Linked DNA regions of Homo sapiens: region 2 is linked to region 1. Evidence: promoter capture Hi-C in 16 types of primary human blood cells and fetal thymus (Javierre and others, 2016). All regions are on one chromosome and are shown on one strand. The core of a region is centred on a gene start or on the middle of the fragment in contact, and the rest is flanking DNA. Distances in the headings are between cores, read along the strand shown.

Region 1 (4,728 bases), core at 850-3,349:
TTGTGGGGTCTATATGACCCTTCATATCCAAAACCCATACAATAAATACCACACTATACAAAGCTGTAACAGAATTCAGTATTCACTTCCTGGAGTAAGATAGTTCTCATTTGGAATTCTGGCTTTGGCAATCAACAGCTGTTACGACTCCTGGACAAAGTTCTTAATCTCTCTAACCCTGTTTCCCACTTGAAAAATGGGATTATGTATACTTACTTCATAGGTAATACCTCACAGTGTGTTACTGAGGTTAAATGAGATAATACATATAAACCAAAGTATTTGACACATATATATTAGATCCAACGATAAAATAAATATTAGTTAAAATTATGAAAGTTAGGATGCTCCAACTTACCCAAGAAACATCAGTAAAATTTCATTCATTACAACTTGTTAATAAAGCACTTTTATAACAAAAATGACTTCACGTTCACTTTCTTGATTCTTACAAAAACCTGTGCTTAGAGTGTAGAAATATTTGTATCGTATTATATATGTGGGAAAATTTGAGCTCAGAAAGATTAAGTAACCTTGCTCAGGTTACAATCCCATTCAGTCGCAATTCTGGGATCAGATGCCTGGTCTTCCAACTTTGATTTGGTGAAGCTTCATCTTTTGGGCAAGTAAATAGGTAAAGAAGTATAGCACTTTCTTTGCCGATCTCCCTTATAGAAACACACTGCCCTGTAAACTTGGTCACAAAAACATTAATGAGAAGTGATGCATGAGCATAACTAAGTGATTTCATTTCCCTACCAATTTTATGATTTTAGATAATAAACAGTTTAACAGGGCCGGGCACGGTGGCTCACGCCTGTAATCCCAGCACTTTGGGAGGCCGAGGCGGGTGGATCACAAGGTCAGGAGATCGACACCGTCTTGGCTAACATGGTGAAACCCTGTCTCTACTAAAAATACAAAAAATTAGCCGGGCGTAGTGGCGGGCGCCCGTAGTACCAGCTACTCGGGAGGCTGAGGCAGGAGAATGGCCTGAACCCGGGAGGCGGAGCTTGCAGTGAGCCAAGATTGAGCGTGTTTTGCAAAGCGAGACACCGTCTCAAAAAAAAAAAAAAAAGCAGTTTAACATTTAACAGAAGTGGACAGCTGTTTTCAAATGGTGTAGGCAACGACAAACATTTATTTCACATACCTTATTCTCCTTAGTAGTCAGCTTCAATTGCTCCAGTTCCTCTCTATGTTTCTGTTCCATTTCTTTTTCCAACTTGGCCACATCTTCGGTGAGTTGCTTCCTCCTCTTCTTGTCATTCTTGGGAACAGCATTCTTCATGCCCTGAATTTTGGCTGAAAAGCCATTAAAATCATTAAGTCAGACACGCAGGAGTAAAAGGAGATGAGAAACAGGAACCAATAAGGGGATGGTAACGGGCGAAGGGTACAGAAAAAGTAATTATGGAAGAAAGAGTCATCACGTAACAGGCAGCTACAGAGAGAGAAGATCCCAGATAAAGCTGAGACCAAAAAAAAAAAAAACTTCATTAACAAAATCTTGAATATGTTTCGGTTGTTTGGCGAGATAAGAGAAGGAAAAAAACCTGACTGTAGCCAGTTTTAAATCTTTCCGGTATCCTTTCTGAACCTCCTAAACTGAGGCGGGTCCATTCAAAATACACCCATTAGGGACAAGTATCGGTAACTGGGGCAGGTATAGAAAAGGGAGGCATCGTGGGTTTGGGAGCGGACCAAGACGGCGGCTTCTAGGTATTTTCAGACACCTGCACCCCGGCGGCGGCGCGGGGTAGGGGGCACGCCGCAGGCCTCAGAAGGGGAAGCCTCTGAAGGTTGGGGAATTAAAGGGCCGCCGGGGTAGGTGAAGAGAGAAGAGGCCACTTGCTACTAGGGGAAGTCTAGGGTGATCCAGATAAGTCACGCCTTGAGATTCCCCAGAATCGACCCGCCACGCGCCCTTCCCCCAGTCGCGGCGGCTTCCAGATTCCCACTTCCTTCCGCCTCACCTTGCAACTCCTTCTTCTCTTTGCGATGCCTTCTCAGCAGCTGCTCTTCCTCATCAAGCTCTTCGGTCAATACCGCCTCCATGACGACCAGGTACCCCAGCACACGCGCTAGAAGAAACCTGCACCGGCTAGTAGGCACCTTCCACCCCTCAACCCTCACCCGGGGCTCCATTGGCTACGGCTGGGACCCAGCCCCGCCTTCAAGGCGGCACCGGATCTAAGCAAAGCCACTGCAAAGACGAGAAACTTAAATGGGGTGCTGCGCGTGCGCGCTACCGTGACCCTGCCGTGATGGGCGGGGCGGCAGGGGAGGAACCAGACTGCGAGCGGAGAAGCGGAGTTTGCAGCCTCGGAATTGGCTAGAGCGCCAGAGCCGAGTCAGCCATAAAGCTACGCGCTAGGCTCTTGGCCCTGACGTGAGGCGCGCAGAGATGGCGTAACGGGAATAGTTTTCAACGTCTATTTCATTCCCTGCTTCAGAGGACCTCTTTAATCTTTGATTTTGGTCCCTGTTTCTAAGAAAAGCAACTGAAAAGGTAAGAAAGAAAAATAACGCATTTTAATAAAGCCGTCGATAATTATCAATGGGAATCTTTGGGCTGTTTGGGGCTGTGTGGAATTAAATTATGTTTATTGTCTCCAAGGTCGTAATACCGCCCCTGAGAAAAAAGGAGCAGCGCTAAATAATCGAGAAAATGCCTCCTCTTGAAACGGATATAGAGATGGAAACAAGATATAAGAAGGATTGAGAATCATATAATACAGGAGCTTAAACACCTATGCGCGATGATAAAGAGGGTACTATTAGAGCGCTTGGAAAATACCAGGAAGTTGAGAGAGTTAACAGAAGGGCGCACGCTGGATTGGCCACAAAATCGAATTACTGAAGTAAGTGCAAAACGACAAATTGTCACAGAATACAGAGAAAAGGGGAAAAGAAATTAAGAGGAGAAAAAGAGAGATCTAGAGGGCCGGTCCAGGAGATACAATCTATGCATAATAGGAATACCTGAAACTGAGGACAGAGCAAGTGGAGCTGAAACAATAAAGGATCTACTTGAAAAAATTTTCCAGAATTGAAGAACGAACTAGATCTACAAATGGAAAAGGCTCATAGGATACCTTTAAAGTTTAATGAAAAGAAAGCAGCATCTAGACATATCCGGGTGACGTTTTTGAATTTCAAAGACGAAACATTTTACAAGCATCCAGTCAGAGAAAGCAGGTTACTTACAAAGGGGCAAAAGTCAGGCTGACCTCAGATTTTTCTCCTGCAATTCTAAATGCCAGAAGACAGTGGAACAATATCTAGAGTGTTAAGGGAAAATAATTTTGAGCCAAGAATTATATACTCTGCCAAGTTATCATTTCTTTACAAAGGAAACTGGAAGACATTCTTAGATATACAGGGGTTAGGAAAGTATATCAACCAAGAACTTTCCCTGAAAATTTTGCTGAAGGATTTACTGCAGCTAACAGAGAACCTGAATTAAAATAAGAATAGGGAGGCAATTGTATGAAAGAACTGATGGTATGCATTAAAACTAGTTAAGGAGCATTAAGTTTAAATTGTTATGTATAGGGCATTAAAACTAAATACAAAAATAGAAACATAAGCTGGGTGTAAAATTTCAGTTTACGTTTAAACTGGAAGGGCATACCACATGTTCAATATATTGGACAAATACTGTTTTATTTTTAGCATGTAGTATTGTAGATACAAATACGCATGTTCTTAAGCTAAACCTAAGTAAAAGGGCTTTGTCACTGTAGATTTGACAAATAACATTCTAAATGTCAAATCTGACAATTGGAAAACAGTACAGTTTTATTTCCCTTATTTTTAAGTATAGCAGGAAAAAAATAACAAGTTTGTCCATGTTACTACTGATACTGTAAAGAAACTTCCAAATCACTGGTTTGGGAGGGGGTGGATACATCCTCATTTTCTGTACATGATGCATGGGGAAAAACAGTAGTTACTGCATCATATAGTTCCAAGTAAATCATATAGTTCCAAGTAAATTTGACATGGAAATAAGTGTTAACTACAAAAATAGAATATATACATTCCAATGTTTGGAAAAGAAGTGGTAAAAAGAAAAATAGCAAAAAGACACTAAAATTAGCAAAAAGTAGATTGACAGTACAGATGACCTATAAACTGGTTAAATAGCCCTATTACAATTGAAATTGGGTCAAAAATCAATCTCTAACCTGAGATACATTTGTATAAAACAAATGATCAAAGAGTTTAAAGATAATGGAAACTATAAATCATAGAAATGGCAACATTTTTCTTAAAATCTAAACATAAGACATTTTATGTAAAACATACAATATAGGATGTAACATTTAACAAACTATATGGTAAATAATATGACATTAATATATAAAATATATGTTCCAGATCTTGATGTGGGTGATAGTTTTACTTATGTACATCGATATACATCTATTTAAAAACATGTACATTTAAATTGTTGCATTTTATGTATTTAAAATTTATTGAGTAATCCTTCTGTATGTATTATTAAAGAGAATATAGCAAAAAAATATGTTGGACTATGACTTCAACATTTATGATTTCTTTTTTTAGAGACAAGAGGGTCTTGCTTTGTAGCCTAGGGTGGAATGCAGTGGCAACATCATAGCTCACTGCAGTCTCCCAACTCCTAGGCTCAAGTAATCCTCCTGCCTCGGCCTCCCAAAGCACTAAGATTACAAATGTGAGCCACCAACCCAGCGCAGT
Region 2 (4,862 bases), core at 1,915-4,414, 2.9 Mb before region 1:
TGAACCACTGATTAAATATAAATACAGAAGTTGAATACATAGGTTAGAAAGTTTAAATTTTAAAAAAATTTAAGAAAGGCTAAATACCATGAAAGTTTACATGTATTCTTTAATTCTAGACACCGTACAACAGTGACAACCAATTACAATAAAATCACAATTGCTTTTAGATGACAGTACTTTCAGATTTCTAATACCCAATTACTTTCATTTCCACAATGTCAACTTCATGCTGCATTTTCATTTCTATAGAGCAGACAAGCTTCCAGACTGCAGACCAAGTTTCTTGTGTAATAATACTACTATCTTGATCATGACCACAGGAAACCAATTTTATATTCCCTGTACTATAGAGATGAGACATTATTTGGTGTATATGAAACTCTTCAGTGGTGGTGTTCAAGAATATTCAAATAGTAGCTGAAAATAGGGTTTGCTAGAGCAGTCCACATATTTCATTAAAAGAAAAATGCCCAGTCAAAACATTTAGAAATAAATATATAGTACAGCCTTTCCCTCTCCCAAATACTACCCAGGAAAAAAGTTCCAAGCTGACTTAAAAAAAAAAAAACACACAAATAAAAACAAAAACACCTCAAAAAATAAACATTATATGATATTCTGAGCAGCAATCTTCCTGAGTCTATTTTCAATTGAAACAAATTCTGCAGCCAATAGTACACTGATTCAGTATCCACAGTCCAGAAGGAGTTCTTGAACATCTAGTTCATATCCCCAAAAAATGTGAAAAGACTCCTAAACACCCAAGTTATTACACAATGGGAAGCTGATATTGGCTTGTATTAAAATCCAGGTGAATATCAAACATAATCACAGCCTTAACAGTGATGCTAGAATAAGTGATGACAATATGTGCACAGCTGTATACAGATCACTATTAAACACAGGAACAAAATGCCACTTGATGCATATCAAAAAGCCAATTTGAATATATTTATTTCATTTACATTGATACAGTATTAGAAGGGACTGAATATAATTATGGAGACTGCTGCAAACATTTGATGCCACTAAGTATTCTATTAAGCATCAGGCATGCACAGTAGTTACCTTTTAAAGTTTCTCATGTATATATCTTAACACATATATCTTAAGCTACAATATGTTTAAAGCATTTAGTCATTTTAAACCCAAATATTTTAATTGACCTATGTCTAAATGGAGAAAAACAGAAACTTCCTCCTGTCTCAATACCCGATGGCAATATTAAACCTTACTCCCCAAATTGATATTTAAACTTATTTATGTCATCTTTAAAATTCCAAAAATAATGAAAAGTCTTATCATTACTAAATAAGAAGTACGATTCCCCGGCAGCAGTCTACCCACCACACACTTACGGCATGCCAAGCCTTTGGGGATTACATAAGAGTGATGTGCTGGTGGCTACAGATGACAATAATTGAAGAGATCAGTCTCTTCTTTTTATTCTGGATCTCCTTATTTTAAACTAAAGCTTTTCATTAATACAAATAAAAAAATCTTTTTTTCTTTCTTTAACTTCAATAGAAGAGTAGATAAAACTAAAAACCCTTATTGTCTCCAAGTGTGTGGCAAAATAGAAAATCTTTCAATTACATTAGGAAATCGGGTGGATAACGGAGTATAGTTATTCCACTTAAGAAGCATTCCAGTCAAATAATCACAAAAACAAATTCAGATTGCTTGGATCTTGGTCATTTATGGCTTGAAGAACTGGATTTGAAAACCACTTTAGGCTAAAATAAATGTATATGAATAATGCATAGACTGTGTATCTAGAAAATCATGCAATAAATATATGTTCTCATGTACACTGGAATCTCAGTGAAGAAAGGTGTGAACAGTACTGTTTCTTCACTTTAACCAAGAGACTACACACAGCAAGATACTTGCTTTTGGCCTATTCAAGATCTTATTTGCCAGGTCATCCTAATTTTCTCAGGTTGGTAAAAGAAGCTAATGTTTCAAGACACCTGTGATAAAGAAGTGACTTGCTTCAAGTGCAGGTGCCATGAAATCTGAGCTAGGCAGGACCAGACTCTCCTGACCCTGCCACCCTGCTGCAAAGTCAATTTGGAGTACCTGACTAGCTAGAGTATCAAAAGGGTAAATGCTTAGAATGACCAACTGGAAATGTTTATTATAGTAGTATCTTTTTAAAAAATCTGCCCTTTAAATGTATATCATTTGAGAATTGCCAGTGAAAGAGCCACTCACTATTCTTGGTTTTGATACGCCCCTACAACATGAGAATTGAACTGAACTACAATGATTGTAATGTCATCTCTGTACATTCGAGCAAGCTCTTCAGGAAGACTAAGCATTTTAGAGAGGCGCTCATGATCAACAGTCCCAAACTCGTTGTTGCCCACAGCGTGGCGAATGAGATGGGTTGCTGCGTTCTGATCCTCAAATACCGAGGACATTTTGGTTCTCCTTTCTGTTAAAAGGCCATGCATCTGTCCCAGAGTCACCTTGTAGCCACCAACAGCTATTGGCTGTTGGTGATGCATGCCAGTTAGGTACTCACCCACAATCCTAACCACATCCTGCCTATGCATAGTCTCCCACAACCCATCAGTAGCCAACACCAGAAACTTATCCTGTGGCCTTAATCGGTGGTAAGTTACCTCTGGCTCAGCAGTGAGATAAGGAGGTGTGTGATAATTAGGAGGAATAAACTTGGTATATTCATTGTCATTCAACTGGTCTGGGCCAGATTCTATCACTCTCTTTTGAAGGTCAATGCTCCATTTGAACTTTACATCTCCAAATGCCCTAAATGGCATCAGCAAGCCAAGCAGCCGATCCTGTTTCACGACACTCTTGGCCTCACTCTTTGGATGTTCCAATTTCAGCCGTTCTAGTTCTCTTTCATTTTGAGCATTGTGGTCATTAGACAGCGTGACTGCTGACCATGAGCCGTCCTCTTCCTGCACACCCAGCATGGCTCTGCTATCGCCAGTATTGGCCACATGAAGGTCAACACCATCCACATGGGCCACACAAGCAGTGGCTCCAGAAAATGCCACTCGAAGCACCAGGTAGTTGAGAAAAGAATTAGGATCACCAACTTGCGCCTCCAAGGAGATGTCATTATCAAGCCTCTTGAAGGCATTAATTAGAGCCTCCTTAACATCAATATCAGTCGACTCACCAGTGTTGAGGTCTATAAGCTCTTGCCAGTAAGTCCTCAAGCTGTTAAAGTACAATTTGGATGCCTCCTTACTAAAGTAATCATTGGGGTGCTTGTGCCACTGGAGAATGGGTAGCAGTGCCCGGCCGCTCTCCACTGCATTTTCAATCTCTAGCAAAGTCTCATGGGGTAACAAAGAGACAGCAATATAATAAAAGAGTCTTTCACTGACTGCCTGGGAACAAGCACAACCTGCATGGCCATCAAAAACCCCCAAAAGCATCCCTCTGGTCTGCAAGCAGGTTGCTGCACTTCTCCGGTCCTCAATGGGTGCATTTGCAGGCAGCTGATTGCTGTCAAATCCAAGGATAGAACTGACATTTTTGCCGTCAAATTCTGGCACTTTGAAACTGTATTCATTAGCTTTAAGGATGCTATTGACTTGTGGAGGTGTGAGGTAAAATTTCTGTGGTGTGGAAGCATATCTCCTTCCTTGGGTGTACTGCCACCAGTTCTCCTTTGGCCTGCAAAAGGTAGCATATGCTGGATGAGGTGTGTATCTCAGTCGACTCTGAGGAATGTACGATGAGGAACAACAGAGATGTTTGTGGTGGCAGTAACATGCAGTGCCATAGATCCTGCTCAGTTCACAGTTACGGATGAGAGGAAAAAACAGTTGAGTTGGTGCTGGCATGGCATCAGAGAACAGTGGCAGGCTGGAACTTCTGACTGGGATTCCTAGACAGCAAATTAGACAGATGTACACAAAGGAAAGAGTTACATTTCAGGATACTTAATCTAGCTTTGCCTTTATAACAAATATTAAGCAAGTCAATCTACATGTTAAGCCTTTGCTAGAAGGTACTACATTTTATACACACATCATGTACTATTTCTACAGGGTATATTCTGGCAGGCACAACTCCCAATCATTCGTGGAACCACGACTGAACTCCTGGCTCCTATACTCAAACTTCAATTTTCTCTTTTCTTTGTCGTCCTTTGTGCAGTACAAACTGTGCAGAATGTACAACAGATTTGGCTGGGGAAAGCTGAGGAGATGAAGGTTATATAACATTATGCAGTAGCCGTCTACCTGACCAATCATCCTTCTCCCTCCCTATTCTTAAAAAATGCCTTGAAATCTCCCATTTTACACAGGGACTTCTTCCATTTATGAAGACCCTTTACATAGACCTGTGGTCAATTTTTGGCATGATTACACATGGCTATGACCAAAAATGTTAAGAGGCAGCCAAACATATGTGTATTTATGAATTACGTGTACATCATATACATATATGACTACAGTAATATGCATTGTAACATATATAGAAAAATTTCTACATAATTAAATAAAAAAAGAAATTCCAGTATTTCTCTCCTGTACCCCAGTAGATGGTCTTGCAAAACTTGCTTCTCTAGTCCACTGTGGCAATTTGCCAGGCTAACGGGCATAGGTCTGCCACCAACTCCCAAATAATCTTGGAAAAGTCAGCTCACATCTTTGAGTCTCACTCTTCTAACCTGTAAAGGAACATCAACAGAGCAGATGCTATCTAAGGCTCTTCTAGGATTCATGCCTTTATGCTTATGGAAGTGAGGTTTTTAAATAAAATTCAGGTTTCATTTATTCACTGTTGAATTCTACCGTGCCCTTCATGATTAAAAAAAAAAAAAAAGTTTAAGTATTGCAGTAGCTCTAAAGCTTTGTTAGTAACAT

What was found. The method cuts DNA at HindIII sites, captures the fragments that hold promoters and counts their contacts. A CHiCAGO score of 5 or more calls a contact.
Region 2: a fragment that was not itself captured here is called in contact with the fragment with the promoter of OTUD6B in region 1 in 1 of 17 cell types (total CD8 T cells); the score reaches 7.8 in total CD8 T cells.

What each region holds. Positions count from the first base shown.
Region 1 is chr8:91,067,715-91,072,442 of GRCh38, reverse strand. OTUD6B (OTU deubiquitinase 6B) reads right to left here and starts at 2,099. Exons shown (of 7, transcript NM_016023.5): 1 at 1,977-2,099; 2 at 1,154-1,305. The coding sequence starts at 2,058. It overlaps OTUD6B-AS1 (OTUD6B antisense RNA 1), which reads left to right and starts at 2,254. Exons shown (of 3, transcript NR_110438.1): 1 at 2,254-2,512; 2 at 2,621-2,864. RefSeq lists an enhancer at 1,872-2,051. The HindIII fragment of the contact is 11,349 bases long and covers 612-4,728 here.
Region 2 is chr8:93,921,031-93,925,892 of GRCh38, reverse strand. It overlaps PDP1 (pyruvate dehydrogenase phosphatase catalytic subunit 1), which reads right to left. Exons shown (of 2, transcript NM_018444.4): 2 at 1-3,877. The coding sequence starts at 3,833. The coding sequence ends at 2,220. Among named protein-coding and RNA genes, the nearest start is that of PDP1, 6.5 kb to the right of the region's middle. The HindIII fragment of the contact is 3,370 bases long and covers 1,480-4,849 here.